Linked DNA regions of Homo sapiens: region 2 is linked to region 1. The links are contacts of gene promoters, found by promoter capture Hi-C in human tissues and cell types (Jung and others, 2019). All regions are on one chromosome and are shown on one strand. Each heading gives the region's core, a stretch centred on a gene start or on the middle of the fragment in contact. The rest is flanking DNA. Distances are from core to core; before and after follow the strand shown. Region 1 holds the start of PSMB5 (proteasome 20S subunit beta 5). Region 2 has its middle 34 kb from the start of LINC02332.

Region 1 (3,099 bases), core at 528-3,027:
GCCGGGGCAAGCGGATCACCTGAGGTCAAGAGTTTGAGACCAGCGTGGCCAATATGGTGAAACCCCATCTCTACTAAAAATACAAAAATTAGCCAGGCGTGAGGCCGGGCACGGTGGCTCATGCCTGTAATCCCAGCACTTTGGGAGGCCGAGGTGGGTGGATCACGAGGTCAGGAGATCAAGACCATCCTGGCTAACAAGCGGATCACCTGAGGTCAAGAGTTTGAGACCAGCGTGGCCAATATGGTGAAACCCCATCTCTACTAAAAATACAAAAATTAGCCAGGCGTGAGGCCGGGCACGGTGGCTCATGCCTGTAATCCCAGCACTTTGGGAGGCCGAGGTGGGTGGATCACGAGGTCAGGAGATCAAGACCATCCTGGCTAACACGGTGAAACCCCGTCTCTACTAAACACACACACACACACACACACACACACACACACACACACACACACAAATTAGCCTGTTGTGGAGGCAGGCGCCTGTAATCCCAGCTACTCGGGAGGCTGAGGCAGGAGAATCGCTTGAACCTGGGAAGCAGAGGTTGCAGTGAGCAGAGATCGTGCCACTGTGTTCCAGCCTGGGGGACACAGCAAGACTTGGTCTCAAAAAACAAACAAACAAACAAACAAAAACAATACAGCATATGCAGAGTCTGCTGGGGGAAAGATGGGGCCGAACTGGGCATCAGAGGAAAGTGGAATTTCGGTGTTGATAGATGTTGCTGCTAGAATCCAACAAGGAAGGCCAGAGACTGACTTCATAGAACCATAAAGCAGGAGGCAACATTTCATACATATGCACACTTCCCGGTTTGTTATAGTTCCCAAAAGATTTGAAAAATGAAGGTGGGTGGAGGGAGGAAGAGGCAATGAAATATAGTATGTTCCTGAATAAAAGGCATCATCTTAGCAAGTTGAAGTTAGAGAATCTCTTGGTACATATTTATGCAGTCTCAACCGTCCTCCCGTCTCTGAGATGGTAAATTACTACTGACACTTATTCAGGTCTGAACTGAGAATCTAGTTTGTGGATTAACTGGACCCTTTGCTTTTTCTTCTTCCATCTGCCTTTTAGGCAATTCATTACTTATTCGAATTTCCACCAGAAGGTAGGAGTCAAGAGAACGAATATTGGATATTAATAACCGGTTACTGTTAAAGAAGGGTTGCTGTATGGCGACTGACAACAAGAGGTATAGCACTTTTATTTTGTTGCGTTGTTTTACCACTAATTGCTGTGGTTTAACTAATATAGGGAAATGGCCTCAGAATGGATCATTATTTTACCCAATTTTAGAAGGTGCCCTTAAACAAGATGGCAACCTCAGGCGCGTTAACAAGGTGCTGAAGCAGCAGCGATGTAACCTGTTGCTTGGACACCAGGCTGGAGTGGGAGGACTCACCGCTAAGGGTTCAGAACCGATTTTCAACCAGTCACGCCCTTCTCAAAGATGGCCGACCTCACTTCCCTTACGCAACATGGACGTTTTCAGTCACTTCCTGTGATTTTGAGGTTATTCTGATCCAGGACTACTTGCATGACCAAAGCCAAGATGGCAGGTACGTCCTTTTAGAATTTAAGGTTAGTGAAGCCATCTATTTCCCCGACCCCCTTCAGTGAAAATGGTCTTTCGCATCTGGCTCTTCTTTTTGGAGGCGTGCTTGCCAGCAGTCAAAATGGCTCCATTCCGGAATAGATTTAATAGGAAGTGAAGCTGTGACGGCGAGGCGTTGCCCGGCCTATCTTTGCTAGGCGTTCTCAGAATTAGTTCTTTCTGCCCACACTAGACATGGCGCTTGCCAGCGTGTTGGAGAGACCGCTACCGGTGAACCAGCGCGGGTTTTTCGGACTTGGGGGTCGTGCAGATCTGCTGGATCTAGGTCCAGGGAGTCTCAGTGATGGTCTGAGCCTGGCCGCGCCAGGCTGGGGTGTCCCAGAAGAGCCAGGAATCGAAATGCTTCATGGAACAACCACCCTGGCCTTCAAGGTGTGGAGCCAGCCCCCTTGCCAGGCTGAGTACTGAACGCCCGCGACTTGCCTGGCCTCCCAGCCTGACCGGAGTTTGCGGTGGCCTTGGCCACCAACCCAGGCGGAGGCTGGGTCCTCTCGTTCGGACCGCAGCAGTTTTGCTGTCTCATTGGCCCAGGAGGCCCCTGTCTTTGCTCTGGTTGGAAAGGGTGGCGGTGGGGCCGGGGGTAAGTCGGGGGAGGAAGGTGAGGCCTCTTGGGTTGATTCCTAGGCGACCCCAGGTTGCTGCTGTTCAGGATCTTCTAGCTGGGAAAGGCCGCAACAACAATGAATCTTGGCCGAGGGAAGGCTATTGTAAACGTTTACCAAAGTTTTGGAAACTGGGCGGCCCCTCAAGGCAGGGGTAACTGAAACTGGCATGAAGGGGAAGCGTGGTGAGGGTAAGCATTGTACTAAGAATCAGACATTTGGGGTTCCTTGCCCAGCTCTGCAATAACTAGCTCTAGATTGAGAAATCATTTGATTTCATTGAACCTGTTTCCTCATCTATAAAATGATTTGTTTTTTTTTTTTTTTTGAAACAGGGCTTTTCGCTGTCGCTCAGGCTGGAGTGCAGTGGCTCCAGCGCCTCAGCCTCCAGAGTAGCTGACACTATAGGCACACACCACCACGACAGGCTAAGTTTTTTTACTTTTTGTAGAGATGGATCTCCCTGTGTTGCCCAGGCTGGTCTCCAGCACCTGGCCTCAAGCGGTCCTCCCGCCTTGGTCTCCCAAAATGCCTGGGTTACAGGAGTGAGCCACCACGCCCATCCTATAAAATGAATTTAATATGGGTTATATCCATGTCAAGGGATTGATGTGAAGCTCGGGTGACATTAATATATGGTGAAGTATAGAAGTATACTGTGAAGTATAAAAGGACGGAGAAAGAGATGTGCTGGGTTTGGATTGATGCAAAAAGAAGTATGTAGGAGTGTTTTTGTGGTCTTATGTGGCCTGTTTTGTGTTTTCCTCTGATCTTAACAGTTCCGCCATGGAGTCATAGTTGCAGCTGACTCCAGGGCTACAGCGGGTGCTTACATTGCCTCCCAGACGGTGAAGAAGGTGATAGAGATCAACCCAT
Region 2 (3,298 bases), core at 663-3,162, 510 kb after region 1:
CAATCTAATAGCTAAAATGGCATAGAAGTGCCTTCTGCAACATCTCATGGTTAACCTTAGGGGTCTGGCATGAAGATATCTAAGGAAGAAAAGTTCCATACTTCACAAAGCAGCCTTTCCACTGCAGGGCAGTTCCACTTGTTCAACAATGTTTGAGGGGAGGTTGGGGCACATCTTGCACCTGCTCGTTTTGATTTGGCCTCCACACTCACCCCTTACCTGGTCTACATCGTAGTTCTTCAAATATTTGAAAGGAGTTAACTCTCTCACTTAGAGACCTGAGATAATTTCAGATAATTAGCTCAGTTTTTATCTGACCACAAAGACTGCGCCACCAACAAATGTACCATTGTGAAGTCATGCCTTAGGAGGAGCTGTTCTGAGGTGACAGAGAAGGCGAGGGAGACGTGTGAGGTAGAAAAATTATGGTTCTAACACAAACTGGGAAAGCTCTTAGAATTTAGTTCTTGACATTGCACTTCCTAGGTGAAATTGCTGAAAAACCTACCCACCATTTTGCTTAAAATTATTCTGGACTTTTCTTTCTTACTTACTTGCTCTTACAGTTACTGTGGTTCCGGCTCCAAAGCTGAGCTTGTAGTCGTTAGAACCACAGTGCGAGGTCGCCCTACACAAACCTCACCAAGACCATGGTTAAGAGAGTGGGCTAGGGGACAGGCAGGCCAGGCTCTTAATCTAGCTCTGCCCCTCATCTGCGGTGAGCCCTTGGGTAACTATTTCAACCTCTTTGCTTTAGTTTTACCTTTCACACTGTTTCCTCATCTGTGGAAGCGGAGATAGGTAATATCTATCCCAGAGGGTTGTTAGGAGGGTCAGATGAGTCAAGGTATGAAAGGTGCTTTGCATATTGCGAATGTTGAAGAAATGTTAGTTATTAGAGTATTTTCAAGAGGATCTAATTCTTTTCATCTTTAAATAATACATATAATTTTAATTTGTCATGTCTCCTCTCTGAAATCCTGGACATTCAGGGGTGCTTTAAATTATATCCAAATGCTCTTTTGTTCAGTAGCAACAGTTAAAATTTGGGCATTTTCCTTATAAAGAATAGCACCTTGAGAACATTGGCAGTTTCAGCATGTCTACTCGATCATGAGATTTGTTTACTACATATCTGTTCAAGTGACATATGAATAAGGACTAATAAAATATCATGGGTGGGGACCCAAAATGCAAAATAAAAGAACTGAAATACAGACTGAAAAGAAGAATTTAGCATAATGTGTTGGTAACTTTTTCTTCTAGGCAACTATAACTTACTTGGTTTTACATTGAGTTTGGTCCCAGATCCAAAGTAAAATTTGTTGAAGTTGTACACCATGTTTATTGGCATTACAAAAAATCCCCTGGCACTTCCTAAAAAGGAGACTTGTTATCCAGAGATGACTAACCAAATTAGACCAAGACTAACCCAACCCTACCAGTTCTTTGCTAATTCCCTGGAAAATTTGAGAACCAAAGTGAGGAATGAGCAGGGAAGGCACATTCATTATCAGAGACAGGCAAGATAAGGGCAACTGGTTTTCTTCAGTGGTTTTATTGATTTCTTTTCTTTAGTTTTCTGCTTGGGTTCATTCTTGTGTCCTCTGTGCTCAATGCACACAATATTTGAAACAGGACACTGCAAGTAAATGTTCTTTACCTTTCTCTTTTCCTAATTATAAATGAAAATTCCCCTCAGGTAGACTTAACTAAGGGGAAAATTCATATTCTGCATTTAGCTCCAGGGTGATCTGGAAGCTTCTCTCTGAGACTCTGTATCTGAATCTGGGTTGCACTTGACAACTAGACCTGAGCTTTTCTTAAGGACACCCCGAGCAACGCCAGCTGACCAGTGGTGCTCTGTATGTATGATCTAATAAGATCACTATAGCCTCTCTGTGACAGTACCTACATTATACAACCATGTATATTTTAGCATCCACATTGACACTCTCCTCCCAGACCCCACAGTCAAACTGTACATTTTGGCTTTTTTTTTTTTTTTGCTTCCTGCTTGCATATTCCCTTCAGAAAAAAAGAAACAAAGCAAAAGAAAAAAAAAGAGCCTGCAGTGTTAGTTGTCATTTGCAAGTCTAGATGAAACATTATTTATGGGTAAAATATTTTGCTGGCAATTTCAAGAGAAAAGAAACCTTAGTGCCAACAGTTAGACGCCCACACAGTTTGGAGTTAAACAGATCTCAACAAATGAACACAGTTATGAGAAGTAACACAGAAGTGACTTCAATCTAAGCCAAGTAATTATAATACTCATGCAATTTTGGAGGGCCAGGGGCTTACTTGTTCTCACTTGTAGAAATGATAAGCAATGTGTTACAGCAATGCTTTGCTGGAAGGGCACCAGAGAGCTATAGAAATAGAGCCTCATTTAAATATCTTAAATATAGGCACCTCTATGTTTAAAGACTTATTTAGAAATAGCTACTAGAATAGGCTAAAAATGTAAGTGACCAACTAGACTTGGTGTGAGACAGTTTTTGTAGCACGTAGGCTGGTCCTAGTGCAAATATTTTCAGAAGCAGAGGTTCCCCTTATGGAATCTGTTCCCATTATTCAGCAATTCTTCTAAGTTAAAATGAAATTTTTTTCTATTCATTTTCATTAACTCCTATTACTAAAAGCCTTAGCAAAAAGCTTCTCTTTCTCTTCTTGGTCTCTGATAAATAATTCTCTGCTCGCATTACCCTTTCTAGTATGCATTGTTGCTGTCTCTCCCCATCTTCAACCTCAGGCCCATTAAGTTACATGTACAGAATACATTTGTAGATTAGTAAATCAGTGCAAATAGTATTTAATTGAGGCAGCCTACCAGGTAAAACAGTCAATTGTGTCCCAGATCCAAAGGTCAGTTGCCTTGCAGAACCAGAAGAAACACTATGATTTGCTCAACAACAAAAACCAGATCAAACAGGCCAGGTTGGCAAAGCACTGAATAAAGAGCTGGCAGTGCTTCCTTTATGAATTAGGCCTGCATCACTGTTAATCTAGGTTTGGTCTGGAGTAGCCAAACTGACTTTCTACAAATCCTAAACTAACCCTCCTTCGTCTTTACAATCCCATTTTCTTTTAGGGGACCTTTGCTTTCCACTTTCCACTACAAAGTTCTAAACATTAACTGTGTATTTTCGATATATGTATAGAGCAAATACTCTCTGATTTTAGGTGTCAAAACAGCACTTGAATCTTTTCATCCAAGGAGACTCACAAAGTCCAGAATAGAGAATACGCCTCCTCTGTTGTGGGCATCACTGGATTATGTCATCAGAGAACTGTC

The links. The method cuts DNA at HindIII sites, captures the fragments that hold promoters and counts their contacts. A contact is called where the count stands out against the background at its distance.
Region 2: a fragment that was not itself captured here is called in contact with the fragment with the promoter of PSMB5 in region 1 in 1 of the 25 tissues and cell types used here (spleen).

What each region holds. Positions count from the first base shown.
Region 1 is chr14:23,033,578-23,036,676 of GRCh38, reverse strand. PSMB5 (proteasome 20S subunit beta 5) reads left to right here and starts at 1,777. Exons shown (of 3, transcript NM_002797.5): 1 at 1,777-1,993; 2 at 3,003-3,099. The coding sequence starts at 1,796. RefSeq lists enhancers at 1,303-1,597, 1,382-2,051, 852-2,051. The HindIII fragment of the contact is 21,864 bases long and covers 1-3,099 here.
Region 2 is chr14:22,521,638-22,524,935 of GRCh38, reverse strand. It overlaps TRA, TRAJ22, TRAJ21 and TRAJ20. Among named protein-coding and RNA genes, the nearest start is that of LINC02332, 34 kb to the left of the region's middle. The HindIII fragment of the contact is 5,765 bases long and covers 1-3,298 here.